Linked DNA regions of Homo sapiens: region 2 is linked to region 1. Evidence: promoter capture Hi-C in human tissues and cell types (Jung and others, 2019). All regions are on one chromosome and are shown on one strand. The core of a region is centred on a gene start or on the middle of the fragment in contact, and the rest is flanking DNA. Distances in the headings are between cores, read along the strand shown.

The links. The method cuts DNA at HindIII sites, captures the fragments that hold promoters and counts their contacts. A contact is called where the count stands out against the background at its distance.
Region 2: a fragment that was not itself captured here is called in contact with the fragment with the promoter of MED14 in region 1 in 1 of the 25 tissues and cell types used here (lymphoblastoid cells).

What each region holds. Positions count from the first base shown.
Region 1 is chrX:40,733,946-40,738,601 of GRCh38, forward strand. MED14 (mediator complex subunit 14) reads right to left here and starts at 1,597. Exons shown (of 31, transcript NM_004229.4): 1 at 1,253-1,597. The coding sequence starts at 1,467. It overlaps MED14OS (MED14 opposite strand), which reads left to right and starts at 1,745. Exons shown (of 2, transcript NR_169211.1): 1 at 1,745-1,845; 2 at 4,248-4,656. RefSeq lists enhancers at 967-1,888, 1,889-2,809 and silencers at 1,205-1,584, 1,845-1,934. The HindIII fragment of the contact is 8,620 bases long and covers 1-4,656 here.
Region 2 is chrX:41,259,991-41,264,400 of GRCh38, forward strand. No RefSeq gene overlaps it. Among named protein-coding and RNA genes, the nearest start is that of LINC02601, 14 kb to the right of the region's middle. The HindIII fragment of the contact is 8,576 bases long and covers 1-4,410 here.

The DNA.
Region 1 (4,656 bases), core at 347-2,846:
GCAATAAAACAGATGTTCCTCTCTTCATAAGCCAAGTCCTAAAATAGTAAAAAGACAACCACAATTCAAGGAATTTCTACAAATCCCCTATGGAAAAGCAAATTACACCACCGATAGCAGCAGTTTTCAACATTTTTTTTCCCACAGCTCTATATAGGCACATACATGAAACTTTCTCATGGATATTCTTGGATTTTTATGAAATCCAACAATAAATGGTGCAGAGAGGTATATCATTATAATAGTCCCTAAACCTGACAGCGATTTAAATTTCTCATTAGCCATGGGTAGGCTTCTTTAACACTACTTTTTTCTGTCCCATTCAAAAAAGTACAATACATCAAAACTGAGAATGACGTTTTACAGGAGTTAAGTAGAGCCTACTCTTTCAGTCATCTGCAAACAAGTATCTGTTATCAGTCTCTAAAAACAAATTACTGTGACGCTTTAGAGCCTAATATCTGCATACTAATGTATCTCAATTGATAACCCTGATCTGAAGTCTTGCAATAGATAAAAAATAAAATTCTGATTAACTTTTTCTGAACCTGGGTTATAAGATGTACAACAGAGTCCCAAAATGTTACGGTGCCTTTTCTTCACACACTGAAATTCGTTAGTATATTCTGATCCTATTCTGAAGGGATTAACAACTTAATCATGCCCCAAGGCATTTCATGGGTAACTAGGTGATTTATAAACCCCCTTCATACTCCAAGAAATAACAGACTACTTACAAAAAAATTTTACTCACACTAACTTCATTAAGACCTCAAACACTCAAAAGTTCCAGAAAAAAAGTACTTTGAATTCAAATTTGTATTTTATACACAACGTATGTAGCTCCTGCATTAACTTAGAAGCAATAACAGCTTACATTTAAAACGTATCGTCAAGAGGCTGTAATACAAATTTCCCATCTATAGAGTTTTTTCTAAAAGCTCGAATATTATGTATTCCAGCCAAGAAATCAAGAGAGTTCTGTTGGGAACTCGGACAAAAATTTCACACAATTTTCAGTGGAAGTGTAACAACACGCAAAATTAACAAGTCTCTGTTGCATCGTTGCCAGGAAGACCCCAGATACAAAGCTTCTTCTCCACCTCTGCTGAACCCCAGGAGTTCAAAAATTCTAGACTAAGCAGTCCAGCGGAGAACACAGCAGCCTCTCGGGGAGAGGGAGGTGCAAACGTCTCAGCCGGTTGGGCGGGAAGGGGGGCTGGGGAACAGGCAGGGGTTTCGGGGCACTTACAGGTCCGTCAACACCATAAGCTCCGAGTAGGCCCGGTGCAGCAGAAATTCAATGAGGGTGCTCAGCCGGTAGCCCGGGCTAGCCGCAGCTGCAGCGGCCGCCGCCACGGCGGCTCCCGGGGGAGGAGGGGCTGGGGCTGACGGGGGTCCGCCGCTGCCCCCGCCGCCGCCTCCGGGCGGGACCAGCTGGTGGTTCTCCAGCTGCACTGGGGCCATGGCGGCGCAGGACCGGGCTTGGCGCAACGGCACACGATGCGGTCCTCGAGCCTCCCGGGCGCTCGGTCACCGCGCCGAAACGGGAGCGGGCAGAGTCGCCACCGCCTACCGCCGGGCCGCCTCAGAACAGGAAGCCGTGCGCCGACCGCGGAAGCCCGCCCCCATGTAGCGAGAAGTCCGCCGACCCCAGGGACAGGAGCGAGGGGCGGGGGGAGGCGGGGATGGGGGGGAAGCAGGGCGGCCCCGCAGAGGGGAAGCTGCGCCTCCGCAAACGCTCAGAAGCAGCTTCGCCAGACAGCCGCAACGTACATGTTGACTGCCCGAGGCGGAAGTCGATCGGCAGAGCGGAAGGGGGACCTGCAGAGGACCTTCCGACAGGTCTGTGTCTGTTCTCTCAGCTGTCTAGCACCGCAGCGCTGGGGGGCGCGTGGGAGTGAGGCGGTACCTGTGAGCGCGCGGGAGAGCGGAAAAGGGAGCCGCGCGCCGCCGGAAACCAGGGTGAGGGCTGAGCCGGAGTCGTCACCGGGAACGTCAGCAGTTGCCCCGCCCTTACCCTCGCCGCTCTCCCTCCCGCCTCCGCCCCCTGGCGTTGTAAAGGCGACAATTTGCCCAGAGAAATCCACCATCGCTTCCTAAGTGGGGCACAAACACAGCCAGGGGAGGCCTCCTCTAAATGTTCGTGAATTCTGGTTCTGGAATCGCGAAGAAATGGGAGCGGCCGCGCGCTTGTGATTCTCAGGCCTTTGCTCCTCCCATACACGTCCACGGCGCGTTACGTGGGAGAACGTTTTCGCCCCTTTTTTTTTTTTTCCAAACTGTGGGAAAAGGTGCTAGAAAATATGATTGCGGGTAGAGACAGGGCCGCTGGCAGAGTAACTCAATTTTAATAGAGTCGGGTGTATGCTGAGGTCGTCACCATCCCCCAAATCCTGTCAGTCCCACACAAAAACGGCCCTTAAATCCCCTGCCACGGGCTCTCATATAGTTTTTGTCCTTGCTCTTGCAGTCACCGCTCTATTCTGAAGGGCTTTTCAGTTCATCCATGCCTACCGACACTCCCGTCCCCCCCATCAAAGTCCACGTTTAATTTTTTGTACCTGCTTTAAAACAGCGATTCTCAACCTTGGCTGCACTTTGCAATTATCTGAGGAGCTGTTTTTTAAAAAAATACTTAGATATATGGGTTCCACCCCTGTAGATTCAGATTTAATTGGTCTGGCTTGAGGTCTGGGCTTGGGGAATTTTTGAACTTTCCTAAGGTGATTCTAACATGCCCTAACGTAGAGATTCACTATTAGAAGCATTCGTTGCTGCGACCCCTTTCAAACATCTTTTTGCAGTTTCATCTCCTCTTGGTGTAAGAGATGTTCATGATGTTCCCTAAGGTTAGAATATTCTTACTGTCATCACTTGGGTAATTCTTTATCATTGTTGAAAGCGGTTCATCTGCTTCTGAAGGTGTAAGCTCACTTGTTCCCTCCCTTGGTGGTCCTAAAGCACATTGAAACAGAATATCATTGTGCTAGTTATTAAAATGCATTGGGATTATTTATACCCCTTACAGATACAGTTGCTGGAAGGCAGCTACCTTATTTTTAAATATTATTTTTATTTTTAATTGATAGTATATACTTATGGCATACAATGTGATGTTTTGAAACATGTAACCATTGTGGAATGAGCAAATCAGGCTATTAACATCTATCAAATGATATACATACTTACTTCTTTTGGTGAGAACATTTAAAATCCACTTTTAGCAACTTTGGAAGATACAAAAGGTTATTGCTAATTGTAGTCACATTGCTGTGCAATAGATCACCAGAACTTATTCCGCCTATCTAACTGAAACTTTGTACCCTTTGACTAATATTTCCCCTTTCTCCACCCACTGTCCTACCCGGCCTCTGGTGGTAACCACCATTCTACTCTTTACTTTTTTTTTTTTTTTTTTTTTTTGAGACAGAGTCTCGCTCTGTCGCCCAGGCTGGAATGCAGTGACGCGATCTTGGCTCACTACAACCTCGCGTCCCAAGTTCAAGCGATTCTCCTGCCTCAGCCTCCTGAGTAGCTGGGATTACAGGCACGTGCCACCACGCCCAGCTAATTTTTTTTAAATTTTTATATTTTTAGTAGAGATGGGGTTTCGCCATGTTGGCCAGGCTGGTCTCAAACTCCTGACCTCAGGTGATCCACCCACCTTGGCCTCCCAAAGTGCTGGGATTACAGGCATGAGCCACCATGCCCGGCCTGAATTTCATTCTTTTTTAAGGCTGAATAGTATTCTGTTGTATATTTATACCACATTTTTTAATTCATTCATTGGTTGATGGACACTTTGATTCCGCATCTTAGCTATTATGAATAATGGTGCAATGAACATGGGAGTGCAGATATCTCTTCAACATACTGATTTCAGTTCCTTTGGATATATACCCAGAAGTAAGATTGCTGCATCCTGTAGTAATTCTATTTTTAGTTTCTTAAGGAACCTCCATACTGTTTTCCAAAATGGGTGTACTACAAATTTACATTCACATCAATAGTGTACAAGGGTTCCTTTTTCTCCACACCTTCACCAACACTTGTTATCTTTCATCTTTTTGATTATAGACATTCTAACAAAATTTGTTTGCTCCCTACACAAATTAATTGTGTGGTTTTAATTTGCATAGAGAGGCAGGCAAAGGCTACTCTGCTAATGGCTTTAGAGGCCACAGTAAGAAGTTTGGGTTTTATTCTAAATGCAAAGCCATTACAATGTTCTCATTTTTTTCTAGGTTGGTCAGACCATGCCCATGGTTCCTCCTCTCGACTTCACTATGAATGCCGCATCTGTTGAATGAATGCAGTTTCTGCTCTTGCTTTTGGATAGAAGTGATTGCAAATCTTATCAAAATAATGAAAAAAATTACTTTTCAATTCCTTTTCAACCCTTTTGAGTCTGAGGGGCAGCTGTACATTAAATGAAACCATATGTATCATAATTTCATTTTTCCATCAAAAGAGCTTTAAAGGAAATTCCCCTTTTTCTCCATGTTTTCAATATTTTTTGTTCCTTTTGTTAAAATCAGATTAATCTCATGAAACATCTGAAGCATTTAAGTCAATTTAAGAGCTGAGAAAATATCATGCTGCTAGTTCTGAAACGATCTGAAGTGTGAATCAGGTGATCACCAAATAGGGGAA
Region 2 (4,410 bases), core at 1,533-4,032, 530 kb after region 1:
AATTATTGTAAATAATGCATTGTAAATATTGTATTTTTTCTTTAAAAAGATTTTTTTTTTTTGAGACGAAGTCTTTCTGTCACCAGGCTGGAGTGCAGTGGCACAATCTTGGCTCACTGCAACCTCCGCCTCCTGGCTTCAAGCAATTCTCCTGCCTCAGCCTCCTGAGTAGCTGGGACTACAGGCGCATGCCACCATGCCCAGCTAATTTTTGTATTTTTAGTAGAGATGGGGTTTTACCATGTTGGCCAGGATGGTCTCGATCTCTTGACCTCATGATCTAACCACCTCGGCCTCCCAAAGTGCTGGGATTACAGGTGTGAGCCACCATGCCCGGCCTTAAAAAGATTTTCTTGTGATAAAATATACATAAAATTTGCCATTGTAACCATTTTTATGTATACAGTTCAGTGGCGTTAAGTACATTTTTAATGCCACTGAACTGTATCTAGCACACGATCATGGTTCACTGCAGCTTCAACCTCCTGGACTCAAGCAAATCCTCCCACCTCAGCCTCCCAAGTAGCTGGGACTACAAGCTAACACCACCATTACCGACGAATTTTTGTATTTTTTGTAGAGACAAGGTCTCCCTATGTTGCCCAGGCTGGTCTCGAACTCCTTGGCTCAAGCAATCCTCCCACCTTAGCCTCCCAAAGTGCTGGGATTATAAGCATGAGCCACTGTGCTCAGCTGCGGATGAGTTCTTGTTCACCTTCCTACAAGGCGCCATGTTTTCATCCCTCTGGAACCTCCCCATGCCCCATCTTCTTGGCCTTTTATGGAGACTTCATTGGATAGGCATGAAGCATGGACATCCATTTAGAAATGTGATTGGGCCGGGCATGGTGGCTCACGCCTGTAATCCTAGCACTTTGGGAGGCTGAAGCGGGTGGATCACCCGAGGTCAGGGATTCAAGACCAGCCTGGTCAACATGGTGAAACCCTGTCTCTACTAAAAATACAAAATTAGTCGGGCTTAGTGGCGTGTGCCTGTAATCCTAGCTACTCGGGAGGCTGAGGCAGGAGAATCACTTGAACCCAGGAGGCGGAGTTTGCCGTGAGCTGAGATCACTCCATTGCACTCCAGCCTGGGCGACAGAGCGAGACTCCGTCTCAAAAAAAAAAAAAAAAAAAAAGAAATGTGATTGGACAAAAAGGATATGATCTAAGCCTAGCAAGGCCTGTCTGTTCAGATTCTTCTTGGCCTCTCTGTGTGGCATTCCCTCCTCCCGGATATGGGGCGGGATCTCTTCTGAAATGGAGGTCTTATAACCTATGCTGAAGTCAAATAAAATATACAGATAAATCTGAAATTAAAACGTTTTATTTGGGAAGAAAGAATTGCAATTCAGAGCATATATGCAGACTGTCCGGTCTTCGGTATGTCTGAAGAACAAAGAGAAGGTTAGAGGTTTTATAGAAAGGGGAAATGTTTCATATTGCTCTTTGAGGAAGCTCATTGGCACTAGTAAGGTTTCAGAGAGCTGGCAAGCAAGCTCTGATTGGAGAGTGTTGGCAGTGGGTAGAACTAGTCTTAGAGTTGCAGCAGTTTGCTTCAGAAGCCATGAGATAAAACTGGTTTCAAGGCCAGGCATGGTGGCTTACACCTGTAATCTCAGCACTTTGGGAGGCTGAGGTGGGCGAATCACTTAAGGTCAGGGGTTCGAGACCATCCTGGCCAACATGGTGAAACCCTGTCACTACTAAAAGTACAAAAATTAGCCAGCCGTGGTGGCAGGCACCTGTAATCCCAGCTACTCGGGAGTCTGAGGCAGGAGAATAGCTTGAACCCAGGAGGTGGGGATTGCAGTGAGCCGAGATCAGGCCACTGCACTCCAGCCTGGGCGACAAAGTGAAACTCCATCTCAAAACAAAACGAAACAAAAAACAAAACAAAAAACTGGTTTCAGGTCATAGCAGGCAGTTTCAGCAGCCAGGCTTGCAGAGAATTACATTTTTGGAGCAATGTTATGTGCCCTGCCTGCTTCCCCCTGACCTCCTGACTCTGTTTCAGTTGGGTATGTCAAGAATGACCCAATTCGTATGATCTTTTCTTCTCTCCTTTCTTTTCTTTTCTTTTCTTTCTTTCTCTCTTTCTTTCTTCCTTCCTTTCTTTTCTTTCTCTCTTTTTCCTTCCTTTCCTTTCTCCTTTCCTTTCCTTACTCCTTTCCTTTCTCCTTTCCTTTCCTTTCTCCTTTCCTTTCCTTTCTCCTTTCCTTTCTCCTTTCCTTTCCCTTTCCCTTTCCTTTCCCTTCCTTTTCCCTTCCCTTCCCTTCCCTTCCCCTCCGCTCCCTTCCCCTTCCTTTTCCCTTCCCTTCCCTCCCCTCCCCTCCCCTCCCTTCCCTTTCTGTGTGTCTTGCTCTATTACCCAGGCTGGAAGACAGTGGTGCAATCATGGCTCACTGCAGCCTCCACCTCCTGAGCTCAAGCAATTCTTGGCCTCCCAAGTATCTAGGACTACAGGCACATGCCACCATGCCCAGCTATTTTTTTGTATTTTTTATAGAGGTGGGGTTTCACCTTGTTGCCCAGGCTGGTCTCAAATTCCTGGCCTTGAGTGATCCCTCAGCCTCTCAAAGTGCTGGGATTACAAGCATGAGCTACCACACCCAGCTGAAGTATGATCAACTTTTACACCTACAATCACACAAGATAGGCCAGATAATTTCTTTTTTTTTTCTTTTTTGAGACAGAATCTTGCTCTGTCACCAGGCTGGAGAGCCGTGGTGCGATCTCGGCTCACTGCAATCTCCGCCTCCTGAGTTCAAGCAATTCCCCTGCCTCAGCCTCCTGAGTAGCTGGGACTACAGGTGTGCACCACCACGCCCAGCTAATTTTTTGTATTTTAGTAGGGACGGGGTTTCACCATGTTGGCCAGGATGGTCTCAATCTCCTGACCTTGTGATCCACCCACCTCGGCCTCCCAAAGTGCTGGGATTACAGGGGTGAGCCACCTCACCTGGCCAGAGAATTTCTTTATAGCCAGCTCCAAGACAGGTAATTTATAAAGAAAAGAGGTTTATTTGGCTCAAGGCAGGAGAATATTAGAGTATATTTTAGTTTCTAAGGTACTATGGTTTGGATACTTAATCCCTCCAAATTTCACGTGGAAATGTGGCCCCCAGTATTGGAGGTGGGGCCTGGTGGGAGGTGTTTGGGTCATGGGGGTGGATCCCTCGTGAATGGCTTGGTGTTGTCCTCGCTGTAATGAGTGCTCTCTCTCTCTTGCTTCCTGTCTCTCCATGTGATCTGCACATGCCATATCCCCTTCCCCTTCCGCCACGATTAGAAGCTTCCTGAGGCCTCACCAGAAGCAGATACTGGAGCCATGCTTCTTGCATAGCCTACAGAACCGTGAGCCAAATAAACCTCTTTTCTTTATAAACTACCCAGCTTCAGGAATCCCTTTACGGCAATGCAAAAGAACTAAGATATACAGGCTGCCTTGGAGAGAAAAAGGAGCAGGTGAAAGGAGGGCAGGAGAAGCTCAGAGAGAGAGAGATTCTGTTTTCTGAGGCCTAAAGCACCCCAATGTTATGACAAGAGAATGTCTTTCACCTTTATGGCTCTGAAGGCTGTTCTGAAGCTGCTTCAGGAACTAAGGACAAAAGGCCAAATGTTATTTATTTATGTATTTATTTATTTTTTATTTTTTATTTCTTTTAAGATGAAGTCTCACTCTGTCTCCCAGGCTGGAGTGCAGTGGTGTGATCTTGGCTCACTGTAACCTCTGCCTCCCGGGTTCAAGCAATTCTCGTGCCTCAGCCTCCAGAGTAGCTGGCATTACAGGCGCCTACCACCATATCTGGCTATTTTTTTTGTATTTTTAATAGAGACGGGGTTTCACCATGTTGGCTAGGCTGGTCTTGAACTCCTGACCTCAAGTGATCTGCCCGCCTTGGCCTCCCAAAGTGCTGGTATTATAGGCATGAGCCACTGCGCCCAGCCCAAATGCTTTTAAAATATATACCTATTGTTTTAGTCACTTAGGAAATAACAAGGGCTATGGCACTTATCAACCAGGAAGTGTGAACAAAAACCAATATAAATATATCATAACATCACAACATCCAAGCCCAATGTGCCATTACAATGTTGGCTGGAACATCGTGCACTACTTATAAAAATGGGCCTTGGCCAGGTATGGTGGCTCACGCCTGTAATCCCAGCACTTTGGGAGGCCGAGGCAGGTGGATCACCTGAGGTCAGGAGTTCAAGACCAGCCTGACCAACATGGATAAACCCCATCTCTACTAAAAATACAAAATTAGCTGGGCGTGGTGGTGCATCCCTGTGGTGCATCCCTGTAATTCCAGCTACTTGGGGGGCTGAGGCAGGAGAATGGCTTGAACCCGGGAGGCAGAGGTTGCGGTGAGCTGAGATCATGCCATTGCACTCTAGCCTGGG